3 separate regions of the Homo sapiens genome follow, and regions 1 and 2 are each linked to region 3. The links are contacts of gene promoters, found by promoter capture Hi-C in blood cells and fetal thymus (Javierre and others, 2016). All regions are on one chromosome and are shown on one strand. The core of a region is centred on a gene start or on the middle of the fragment in contact, and the rest is flanking DNA. Distances in the headings are between cores, read along the strand shown.

What was found. Contacts are between HindIII fragments. The CHiCAGO score rates a contact against its expected background, and 5 or more counts as called.
Region 1: the fragment with the promoter of NAT14 here is called in contact with a fragment that was not itself captured in region 3 in 14 of 17 cell types (endothelial precursors, M2 macrophages, M1 macrophages and 11 more); the score reaches 10.7 in endothelial precursors.
Region 2: the fragment with the promoter of SBK2 here is called in contact with a fragment that was not itself captured in region 3 in 2 of 17 cell types (neutrophils and monocytes); the score reaches 6.4 in neutrophils.

The regions. Positions count from the first base shown.
Region 1 is chr19:55,483,772-55,487,176 of GRCh38, forward strand. NAT14 (N-acetyltransferase 14 (putative)) reads left to right here and starts at 1,417. Exons shown (of 3, transcript NM_020378.4): 1 at 1,417-1,487; 2 at 1,890-2,009; 3 at 2,637-3,405. The coding sequence starts at 1,938. The coding sequence ends at 3,185. It overlaps ZNF628 (zinc finger protein 628), which reads left to right. Exons shown (of 3, transcript NM_033113.3): 3 at 1-716. The coding sequence ends at 602. RefSeq lists a silencer at 1,207-1,626 and an enhancer at 1,727-2,056. The HindIII fragment of the contact is 21,455 bases long and covers 1-3,405 here.
Region 2 is chr19:55,535,150-55,538,605 of GRCh38, forward strand. SBK2 (SH3 domain binding kinase family member 2) reads right to left here and starts at 1,984. Exons shown (of 4, transcript NM_001370096.2): 1 at 1,905-1,984; 2 at 893-1,147. The coding sequence starts at 1,145. RefSeq lists a silencer at 2,593-2,887. The HindIII fragment of the contact is 39,425 bases long and covers 1-3,456 here.
Region 3 is chr19:55,213,376-55,216,553 of GRCh38, forward strand. LOC124904771 (a long non-coding RNA gene) reads left to right here and starts at 2,214. Exons shown (of 2, transcript XR_007067346.1): 1 at 2,214-3,178. The HindIII fragment of the contact is 1,890 bases long and covers 726-2,615 here.

The DNA of each region.
Region 1 (3,405 bases), core at 167-2,666, 270 kb after region 3:
AGGAGGTGACCACGGTCCAGCTCCAGCCCGTGGCCGGCCAGCTCTCCAATTCCAGTGGGGGAGCTGTGGCTACTGAGGCACCCAACCTGCTGGTTGTTCAGAGCGGGGCAGCTGAGGAGTTGCTCACTGGCCCGGGCCCCGGGGAGGCGGGGGATGGCGAGGCCAGCACTGGTGTGGTCCAGGATGTCCTCTTTGAGACACTCCAGACGGACGAGGGCTTGCAGAGCGTGCTGGTGCTGAGCGGGGCCGATGGCGAACAGACTCGACTCTGCGTACAGGAGGTAGAAACACTTCCTCCTGGGCTGACGGAGCCGCCTGCCACCGGCCCACCCGGACAGAAACTCCTCATCATCCGCAGCGCCCCAGCCACTGAGCTGCTGGACAGCAGCAACACTGGAGGAGGCACCGCCACGCTGCAGCTCCTGGCCCCACCGCCGTCAGGCCCAGCCTCGGGCCCCGCGGGGCTCCCCGGGGCTCCAGCCTCCCAGATGGTGCAAGTGGTCCCCGCAGGAGCTGGGCCTGGTGTTATGACCCCTCAGGGCCTGCCCTCCATCCAGATTGTCCAGACTCTACCCGCAGTCCAGCTGGTGCACACGTTTTGAGGAGAGGCAGTGATTCCCCTCCCGCCCCGCACAGAGACCCCGACTCACTGCCAGCCGGGGCGGGGCAGGGTGCCGCAGGCTGGGCTTGCTAATAAAGACCCGAGTCTCCCCGCCTGTGTTTTGTTTTCCTGGGGGGAGGGAAGGGGGCAAAGTCATGGTCCTAGCCCCCGCCTGGGAGCGTGGAGTCTTAAGTCTTGCGTCCTGGGTCGCAGATGGCTTGTTCTGCATCCTGGGGCCAGCCACTACGTAGGGCTCAGTTCCCCTGTCCTGAAACCAAAAAAGGCCGCAGGGGTCATTATAGTGGGGAGGTGGTGACATCAGACTCCAGGGAGTGCTACTTGTTCACTGTAGGTCGCCCCGCTGCCCCCCTCGTGTGAGAAGTAGGGGGATCCTTATGCGGAAGGGTTCTGCGACCCCGGGCGCCCCGTGGGTGGAGTGGGGTCCCTGGGGATGGGGGAGTCGGGCGCCAGGATGCTGAGCGTGGCCGGCTCCTCCCGCGAAGGCCCCGGCACGGATGAGAATCCACGCGCTGGCGTCGCCGCCCGGCGCTCAGGTTGCTCAGCAACGAGGGAACGTGGGGCGGGAGCTCGCGCTGGTCCCCAGCCCGCCGCCCGTCTCCTGCCGGCTTCCGCTCCCGTTCTTCCCCAGGTCCCCTTTCCCCGTTGCTCCTTCTCTAGGGATAGGAGAGGTCGCTTCCCGGCCCTCCGCAGGGTCACAGCTCGGTTCCTCCCAGCCCGCCCTCCGGGGAGCTTAGCAACGGTTGCTACGGCCCGGAGCGGGCGCCGCCCCGCCCCACCGCGCGCGGTCTGACGTCACTTCCGCCCGCGACCCCCTTCCAGACCCGCTCCCGAAACCTTGTCGAAGGACCAAAGGCGACCGGTGCAGGTGCTTGCTGGTCCTTGTTCTTGTGGCGCGGGACGGGGACGACTGTGGGGGAGGGGGCGCTGGGGACCGGGGTGGAGCGAGCGTGGTCCGTTCTCTGGCATGTGGGGAGGGTGTTCGTGGACCCCAGTGCCTGGGAGGGAGCCCCGTGCTGCAGTGTTGGCGTCCGCAGCGCGTTTGGGAGTGTAGATCGCTGAATAATACGGGGGAGGGGGGATCCCGGGAGACTTTAGCAAGGTCGCTGAGTATTGTGGGGGGCGCCTGTCCTGCCGAGATCCTCGCTTGGGGGCCCCGAGGGTTCTCAGTGTCCTGATCTGGGAAGTGCCGTTGCTGCTCCCTACCCCTCGGGGGAGCTTTGGGGACAGAGGTGCCCCCCTGACGCTGACCTACTTATGTTCTCACCAGGTGCACGACGCCAGCTCCCTTCTGGGGGGCCGGGGCCTGGGGGTTGCCATGGCCCCCAGCCACCTGTCAGTGCGGGAGATGAGGGAAGATGAGAAGCCCCTGGTGCTGGAGATGCTGAAGGTGAGAGGCAGGGGCCCCAGGGGGCCTGGGAGTGGCTGCAGTGGGGGAATTGCAAGTGGATTCAGCCACCCCCTCCCACCCACCTGAGCCAGCCTGGACCCCTGGAGCGGGATCTTTTCCTCCTGAGCCTCAGCCGCCCTGCTGCTGAAAACCACAGCAGGTGTGGCAGGTGGGGGCTCACCCCCCCAGCCCTACTGGGACCCCAGCACCAACGCCCTCCCTGGTCTCCCATCTCCAGTCGGCTGTGCACGCCAGCACAACAGCCAGCTCTGTGCCTCGGACCCCAACTCTTCAAAGCACAGCCCAGCACCCCAACCTAGCCCAGCAGCCTCCCTCCAGCCTCCACTCCAGCCTGAGGCAACCTCCCTGTCCTTACTTCCCTGGGGCCTCACTGCGGCATTGCTACTGAATTGAGTGCCCCCACAGCTCCTAATTCACTCATCCATCCATCATTCGCTCTCGTTCATTCATTCACTCCATACCCAGTGTGCCACACTGAACATCGGACTGTGCTGCCTTCCCTTCCCATTTGGGAGCTCTCACCCCGCCCCGGGCAGGGTCTACCTCCTCTCTTTGTCCAGGAGGCCCTAGCGTTTCGGATGGCTGAGCCACCCCTCCTGCCCACAGGCCGGCGTGAAGGACACGGAAAACCGCGTGGCCCTCCATGCCTTGACACGGCCGCCGGCCCTGCTCCTCCTGGCGGCGGCCAGCAGCGGCCTGCGCTTTGTCCTGGCTTCCTTCGCCCTGGCCCTCCTCCTGCCGGTGTTCCTGGCTGTGGCCGCCGTGAAGCTGGGCCTGCGGGCCCGATGGGGCTCGCTGCCTCCGCCGGGTGGCCTGGGGGGCCCCTGGGTGGCCGTGCGGGGCTCCGGTGACGTGTGTGGGGTCCTGGCTCTGGCCCCTGGCACAAATGCAGGGGACGGGGCCCGGGTCACCCGCCTGTCTGTCTCTCGCTGGCACCGCCGCCGGGGCGTGGGCAGGAGGCTGCTGGCCTTCGCGGAGGCCCGGGCTCGGGCCTGGGCTGGGGGCATGGGGGAGCCCCGGGCCCGGCTCGTGGTCCCCGTGGCTGTGGCCGCCTGGGGGGTGGGAGGGATGCTGGAGGGCTGTGGCTACCAGGCCGAGGGGGGCTGGGGCTGCCTGGGCTACACGCTGGTGAGGGAATTCAGCAAAGACCTGTGAAGCTACAGACTGACAGCCAGGGCAGGGGAGGAGGGAGGGGCGCCAGCACCTGATGATCGCCTACTGTCTGCGGGTTCTTTTACCTGCTCTCCCTCAGTGAGTCCTCAACCACCCTGGGCCCAGAAACAGAGGCCTGCCGAGGGGAGGAGCCTGGCCTCTGTCCACCCGTCAGCAGTGTGAAGTCTGTTGTGTTTGAGCTTCTCAGAGTGGAATGACTCCT
Region 2 (3,456 bases), core at 734-3,233, 320 kb after region 3:
GACTGGCTCTGGTTCAATTCTGGGTCCACTGCCCGCCCAACCCCCCCAGCACAGGGCTGGCCTCAGAAGGCGTGCCCTGAACTGACTGACCTCAGGTTGCCTCCCTATTTTCCGTTTCATGGAAGGACACGGTGCTTGGCAGAAAGGCCCAGGGTAGTGGGGAGCTGTCCTGCGCACCCACTGTGTGCCGGCCTTGCTAAGTGCTTAGCAGACAGCATCACTCTGCATCATCCCACGGTGACCACTACAGCCGCCACAGGAGGCTCCTGAGCTGGGAGCTCTGTCTTACCCAGCATTATACAACCCCAGCAACTAGAGCAGTCCACATTCACTCAGAGGATCCACCATTCTTCCAAGTAGAAATCATCACCCACATTTTCCAAAGGAGGAAGCTGAGACTCAGAGAGGGCAAGGGAGTTCCTCAAAACACAGTTTTTGGCAGGGCACCGTGGCTCATGCCTGTAATCCCAGCAATTGGGAGGCTGAGGCAGGCGGATCACTGGAGGCCAGGAGTACGAGACCACCCTGGCCAACAGAGTGAAACCTCATCTCTACTAAGAAAGAAAAATACACACACACACAAATGTAGCTGGGTGTGGTAGTGCATGCCTATAGTCCTAGCTACATGGGAGGCTGAGGCAGGAGGAACACTTGAACCTGGGAGGTGGAAGTTGCAGTGAGATTGTGCCACTGCACTCCAGCCTGGGCGGCAGAGCCAGACTGTCTCAAAAACAACCAACCAACCAAAAGAACAAAAAACAAAAAACACACAGCTTTGGAGGGCAGAGGTAAGACTTGATTCAGGCCTGCCAGCCTCCCCAGCCTGGGCTACCCCAGGCCCGTGCCCCGCCCCCAGCTGAACCCTGCCACCTCTGGCCCCACAGCCTCGTACCTTTCTGACGATGGGTGACCAGAAGGACGCGGCCATAGCAACCCTGGCCCAGGGGACGCACTTCCTCGTAGAGCTCGTCCACCTCGGCTCGGACCAGGGTCTGAGCACTCAGCGTCATCATGTCCTCCAGCGCGCGGGCAGCCTCCTGGCCCTGCTGGAGCTCCTCTAATGTCAGGCCGCCCAGACCCTCCTCCTCGCTGTCCTCCGAAGCCCCTGCCTCCGCCGGCCCTTCCTCAGACTGTTTGCCGGGCATCTCTGCGAGAACAGAGAGGGGTGCCCAGGCTCAGGTCCCAGGCCCAAGGGAGGAGGGGACTGGGGGTCTGGACTCCTGGGTCTGAGGGAGGAGGGGCTGGGGGCTCATCGCGCTTCTCATTGTGACTCAGTCTCCCTCTTGGTGAGAGGTGGGGAGACAAGTCTGGTGTGAGTTCAAGCCCCAGGTCACAGATGTCCCTGCCCGCGTGCCGCCGCCGCCACCCGCCCACCCTGAGGTTGAAAGATGAACCAGATAACTGAGACTCCCCCATCTTGTTTCCAAAGCAAACAGACTTGGGCCCTGGGGGTGGATGAGTAGACTCTGTCTCCTGAGAACAAACAGGTGCTCTTGGGCTCAGGGCTGGGAGGGCGGGCTGTGCAGAGGGCCTGGGACGCCTGGGTCCTGCATGGGACCGAGCACTTGGGATCAGTCCCCAAGCTCCTGACAGGCCTGGGGTCCCACTTTCACAGCCCACCCACCTCCCTCCGACCCAGCCCCCCAGCCCCTCCTCCGCCAGGCCCAGGGGTCCAGGCCCCCAGCCCACCTCTCTCCCGGAACCTCATACAATTCACACAACTGGGGACCCCCTGATTCTGTTTCCCTCACCCTCCACCGCTCTACAGCCTCCAGGTGCAGCCCAGGCTCCCCTGAGGGACCGAGGACTCGGGCCACCTGGTACAGTCACCCTCAGGTGCTGCCCACCTCAGGCCAGGGCACCTTGCCCACCTCCCAACCTGGGCTCAGACCTCCAGACCTCACCTCCTCCAAGGCCCTCCTGACCCTCCGGCCGCCGGCTGTGGTCAGTGCCCGGCACTTAGGGCTCATGCCAGCAGAGGCCTGCCTAGGAGCAAGACCCCGCCCCGACTTTGGGGGTCGTAAGGCCCCGCCCCTGGGCCCGCCCCTTCTGCCCCCACTGGGAGCAGAGCGACATCGTGTGATGACTCCTGGAACTGGCTGTGGTCAGGTGAATACCCTGACCCAAGAGTTGAGCCCTCCTCCTTCAGACCCAGGAGTCCAGGCCCCAGCCCCTCCTCCTCCCTCAGACTCAGGAGTCCAGGCCCCCAGCGCCTCCTCCCTCAGACCCAGGAATCCAGTCTCCCAGTGCCTCCTCCCTCAGACCCAGGAGTCCAGGCCCCAGCCCCTCCTCCCTCAGACCCAGGAGTCCAGGCCCCCAGCTCTTCTTCCCTCAGACCCAGGAATCCAGGCCCCCAGCTTTCCCTCCCTCAGACCCAGGAATCCAGTCCCCCAGTGCCTCCTCCCTCAGACCCAGGAGTCTAGACCCCAGCCCCTCCTCCCTCAGACCCAGGAGTCTAGGTCTCCAGCCCCTCCTCCCTCAGACCCAGGAATTCAGGTCTCCAGCCCCTCCTCCCTCAGACCTAGGAGTCCAGACCCCCAGCCCCTCCTCCCTCAGACCCAGGAGTCCAGGCCCCAGCCCCTCCTCCCTCAGACCCAGGAGTCCAGGCCCCAGTCCCTCCTCCCTCAGACCCAGGAGTCCAGGCCTCAGCCTCCCCCACCCATCTGAAGTTTTCCGGCAGAACTGAGGCCTCCCCACCCCCTCAAGGCCTCTCTTCCCAGTTGCTCCAGCACCTGCTTCCCGCCCCTCTGAGTCTGAGGTCATCCCACACTGCATCGTTCTGGAATCTCATTGTCTCATTCTTTCCCCAAACTAGACCCCAGCATCTGATCCCCTGGACACCCCTCTCCAAGCACTTGTGTCTGACCTGTCAATGGGGCATTGATGGGGCAGCTGGGTGGGGTCAAGGCAGGGGTGGGTTCCAGAAATGATTTCATTTTCTACACGGGACCCGGACTCCTGGGCCTGATGGAGGAGGGGGTTGAGGACCTGGACTCCTAGGTCTGAGGGAGGAGGGGGTTGAGGACCCGGACTCCTGGGCCTGAGGGTGGAGGGGGTTGAGGACCTGGACTCCTGGGCCTGAGGGAGGAGGGGGTTGAGGACCTGGACTCCTGGGTCTGAGGGAGGAGGGCCTGAGGGCTCCTGATTCCAAAGAGAGGAATAACAATAAAAATAGTTTGAAAGCGCATAACAGGAATACAGGCCAGTGAGTGCCTCCCTGCTGTAAGCACAGGGAGATTAAGCCCCACTAGGAAGTCCCCAAGCCTTGGGCCACAGTGGGACTTCAGACCCCTGTTTTTTTCTGGGACGGTTGCACCCACCCTTCAGGGTTTTTTATTTCTTTTTTTTTTTTTTTTTTTTGCTTTTTGAGACGGAATCTCGCTCTGTCACCCAGACTGGAGTGCAGTGACGTGATCTCGGCTCACTGCAACCTCCAACTCTCTGGTTCGAGTGATT
Region 3 (3,178 bases), core at 421-2,920:
AAGTGCTGGGATTACAGGCGTGAGCCACTGTGCCTGGTCAATTTTTGTACTTTTAGTAGAGACGGGGTTTCACCATGTTGGCCAGGCTGGTCTCGAACTCCTGACCTCGTGTGATCCGCCTGCCTTGGCATCCCAAAGTACTGGGATTACAGGTGTGAGCCACTGCGCCCAGCCAAGACCAAGTCTCTTGAGAATGTGGCATCTGCAAGCAGCCAACACTGCTTAAGAATGAGTGCTCAGTGCCTGCAAAGGAGATCTGGGTGAAGCACCAGCGACGTCCACCCCTAAAGCCTCACACCTGTTACCAGTCCTGAGCCAGTTCTCAGTCTTGGAACCCCTTCCATGTAGCGGATGCTTTTCCCTCAGGGAGGACTCACCGATACTAGTCAAAGTACATACTGTAAACCTTCCTCCCAGTTTCTCCTAAAGGCCAATATCCATGGTCGCTGGGGATTAGAGAAAGAGAAAAGGCTACTGGACTCTGACTCTGAATCAATCCTAATTTGGAGGCACACACAGGTCACCGTGAATCATGGTCTGACTGGTGTGCTTGGGGCTGTCAGGTAACGAACGGAGGGTTCACCTAAAGACCATCACACAGTGGGTCAACGGGACTCTAAAGACCCTGTGTGGCTCCTTCCTCAGGCCTTGAGAGTGAAGTTGAAATCGACATTCTCATAAAATGGCAGACACAATGCTTTGGCTTCCCTGATCTGTAGTGTGAAAGCTTTGATGGTGGGAAGAAGAAATGGAAGCCCCTAGAAATTCCCCCATCTATATTGGGCCAGTCTTTCATTGCTATAAAGAAATACCTGAGACTGGGTAATTTATAAAGAAAAGAGTTTTAATTGGCTCGCGGCTCTGCAGGTTGTACAGGAAGCGTGGTGCTGGCATCTGCTCAGCTTCTGGGAAGGCCTCAGGGAGCTTTTCCACTCATGGCGGAAGGTGAAGAGGGAGCAGGCACATAACATGTCGAAAGCAGGAGCAAGAGAGAGAGGACGGGAGGTGCCACACACTTCTATTTTTTTATTTTATTATTATTAAATTTTTGAGATGGAGTTTCCCTCTGTCACCCAGGCTGGAGTGCAGTGACACCATTTTGGCTCACTGCAACCTTCACCTCCTGGGTTCAACTCCCAGCTAGTTTTTGTATTTTTAGTAGAGATAGGGTTTTGCCATGTTGTCCGGGCTGGTCTCAAACTCCTGACCTCAGGCGATCCAATGCACCTCGGCCTCCCAAAGTGCTGAGATTACAGGTGTGAGCCACCGCGCCCGGCCTTGCCACGTACTGTAAAATACCCAGATCTCTTGTGAGCTCACTCATCACCATGGGGATGGTACTAAACCATTCATGAGGGGTCCATCCCCAAGATCCTAACACCTCCCACCAAGTCCGGCCTCCAACACTGGGGATTCCATTTCAACATGAGATTTGGTGGGGACACAGATCCAAACCATAGTATCATCCTTCCCAAACAGTCAACCCAGGGAATCACAGAGATCAGCGCCAGCATCAAGCCTTGGAAAACACAGGGGTGGGATATGGGAGGGTGATTCCTAAACATTATCCTTTGATTCACATGATTAATCTATGCAGGAGCTTATGGATCTTGGAAGACAGAAGTAAGAAATGGTGATACTGGCCGGGCTCAGTGGCTCACGGCTGTGATCCCAGCACTTTGGGAGGCCAAGGAGGGCGGATCACGAGGTCAGGAGATCAAGACCACGGTGAAACCCCGTCTCTACTAAAAATACAAAAAATTAGCCGGGCGTGGTGGTGGGCACCTGTAGTCCCAGGTACTTGGGAGGCTGAGGCAGGAGAATGGCGTGAACCCGGGAGGCAGAGCTTGCAGTGAGCAGAGATGGCGCCATTGCACTCCAGCCTCGGAGACAGAGCGAGACTCCGTCTCAAAAAAAAAAAAAAAAAAATGGTGATACCCTCGGAAGTGGCTGGTCTTCTCAGGGTAAGGTCTCCTTCAGCAAATCAGCACAGCCCCTGGCACCTGATATTCAGCTAATGAACTGGAAAAGGCGTTTTGCCTATAGAAGTTAGCCTGAATGAAGAGTGTTCTTTACTCCAACAGTGACAGAAGGTCAGTGTGATTCCCTTTAGACTGTCTGGGACCTCGGTCATCTTATCAACCCATAAGACATCACGCTGTTCCCCCTCACTCCTGGATAGCAATTTATCCTCACTGGAATGGACACTTACAGGTGTTTATTAATTTCTCAGTGATTTGTTGAATGAATGAAGGAATGAATGAATGAATGATGTCTTTACCTTGAGATTGGAGTTCTTTCAGATTTGCTCTCTGCCCACCTCACCAGCCTCTTCTCCTATCTTTACTCCAGCTACACAGATGTCCGTGCATGTTTTTCTTAGCACTCCAGGTGGATTCAAACCTCAGGGCCTTTGCACACACTGTTCCCTCTGCCTGGTAAAATATTTCTCCACCAGCCAGGGCCTACTTCTCTTTCTACTTCTGGTTGACCCCAGATACAGTTGGCCACTCCCTCCTATGTTTGGAGCCAAACTAAACAAATCTCTTATTATAATACTCATCACATTGTCTGTGGCTTTGCCTATTTTTCCTTTCTTTTATCAGAGTGGAAGAAGCTTCTTTGGGTAGAGACAAGTCTATTCATCTTGGGGGACATCAGGCCAACTCCACACCGAAGGCTGATGAAACTTCAGGCAATATCCCTTCATCTGAATCTGATGACGTGTGTCACGTTTTCCAGGTCCACACTCAGGGATCTGGTCTGCGTTTTCATGTAAGCTTTCTCCACTCTCACTTTCCCTGGACTCTCATCCAGGATTAGATTTTTTTTTTTCTTTTAAATGGAATCTCATTCTGTCACCCAGGCTGGAGTGCAGTGGCACCGTCTCGGCTCACTGCAACCTCTGCCTCCTGGGTTCAAGCGATTCTCCTGCCTTGGCCACCACGCCTGGCTAATTTTTGTATTTTTAGTAGAGACGAGGTTTTGCCATGTTGACTACGCTGTTCTCGAACTCCTGACTTCATGTGATCCACCCGCGTCAGCCTCCCAAACTGCTGGGATTACAAGCATGAGCCACCACGCCTGCCGCGATTAGATCATTGATCTCATTGCAGGTGAACCAGTCCAGACCCCCATCCAGGTTTTCCAGCTTGCTCGCTCCTCACGCTGTGGCTGT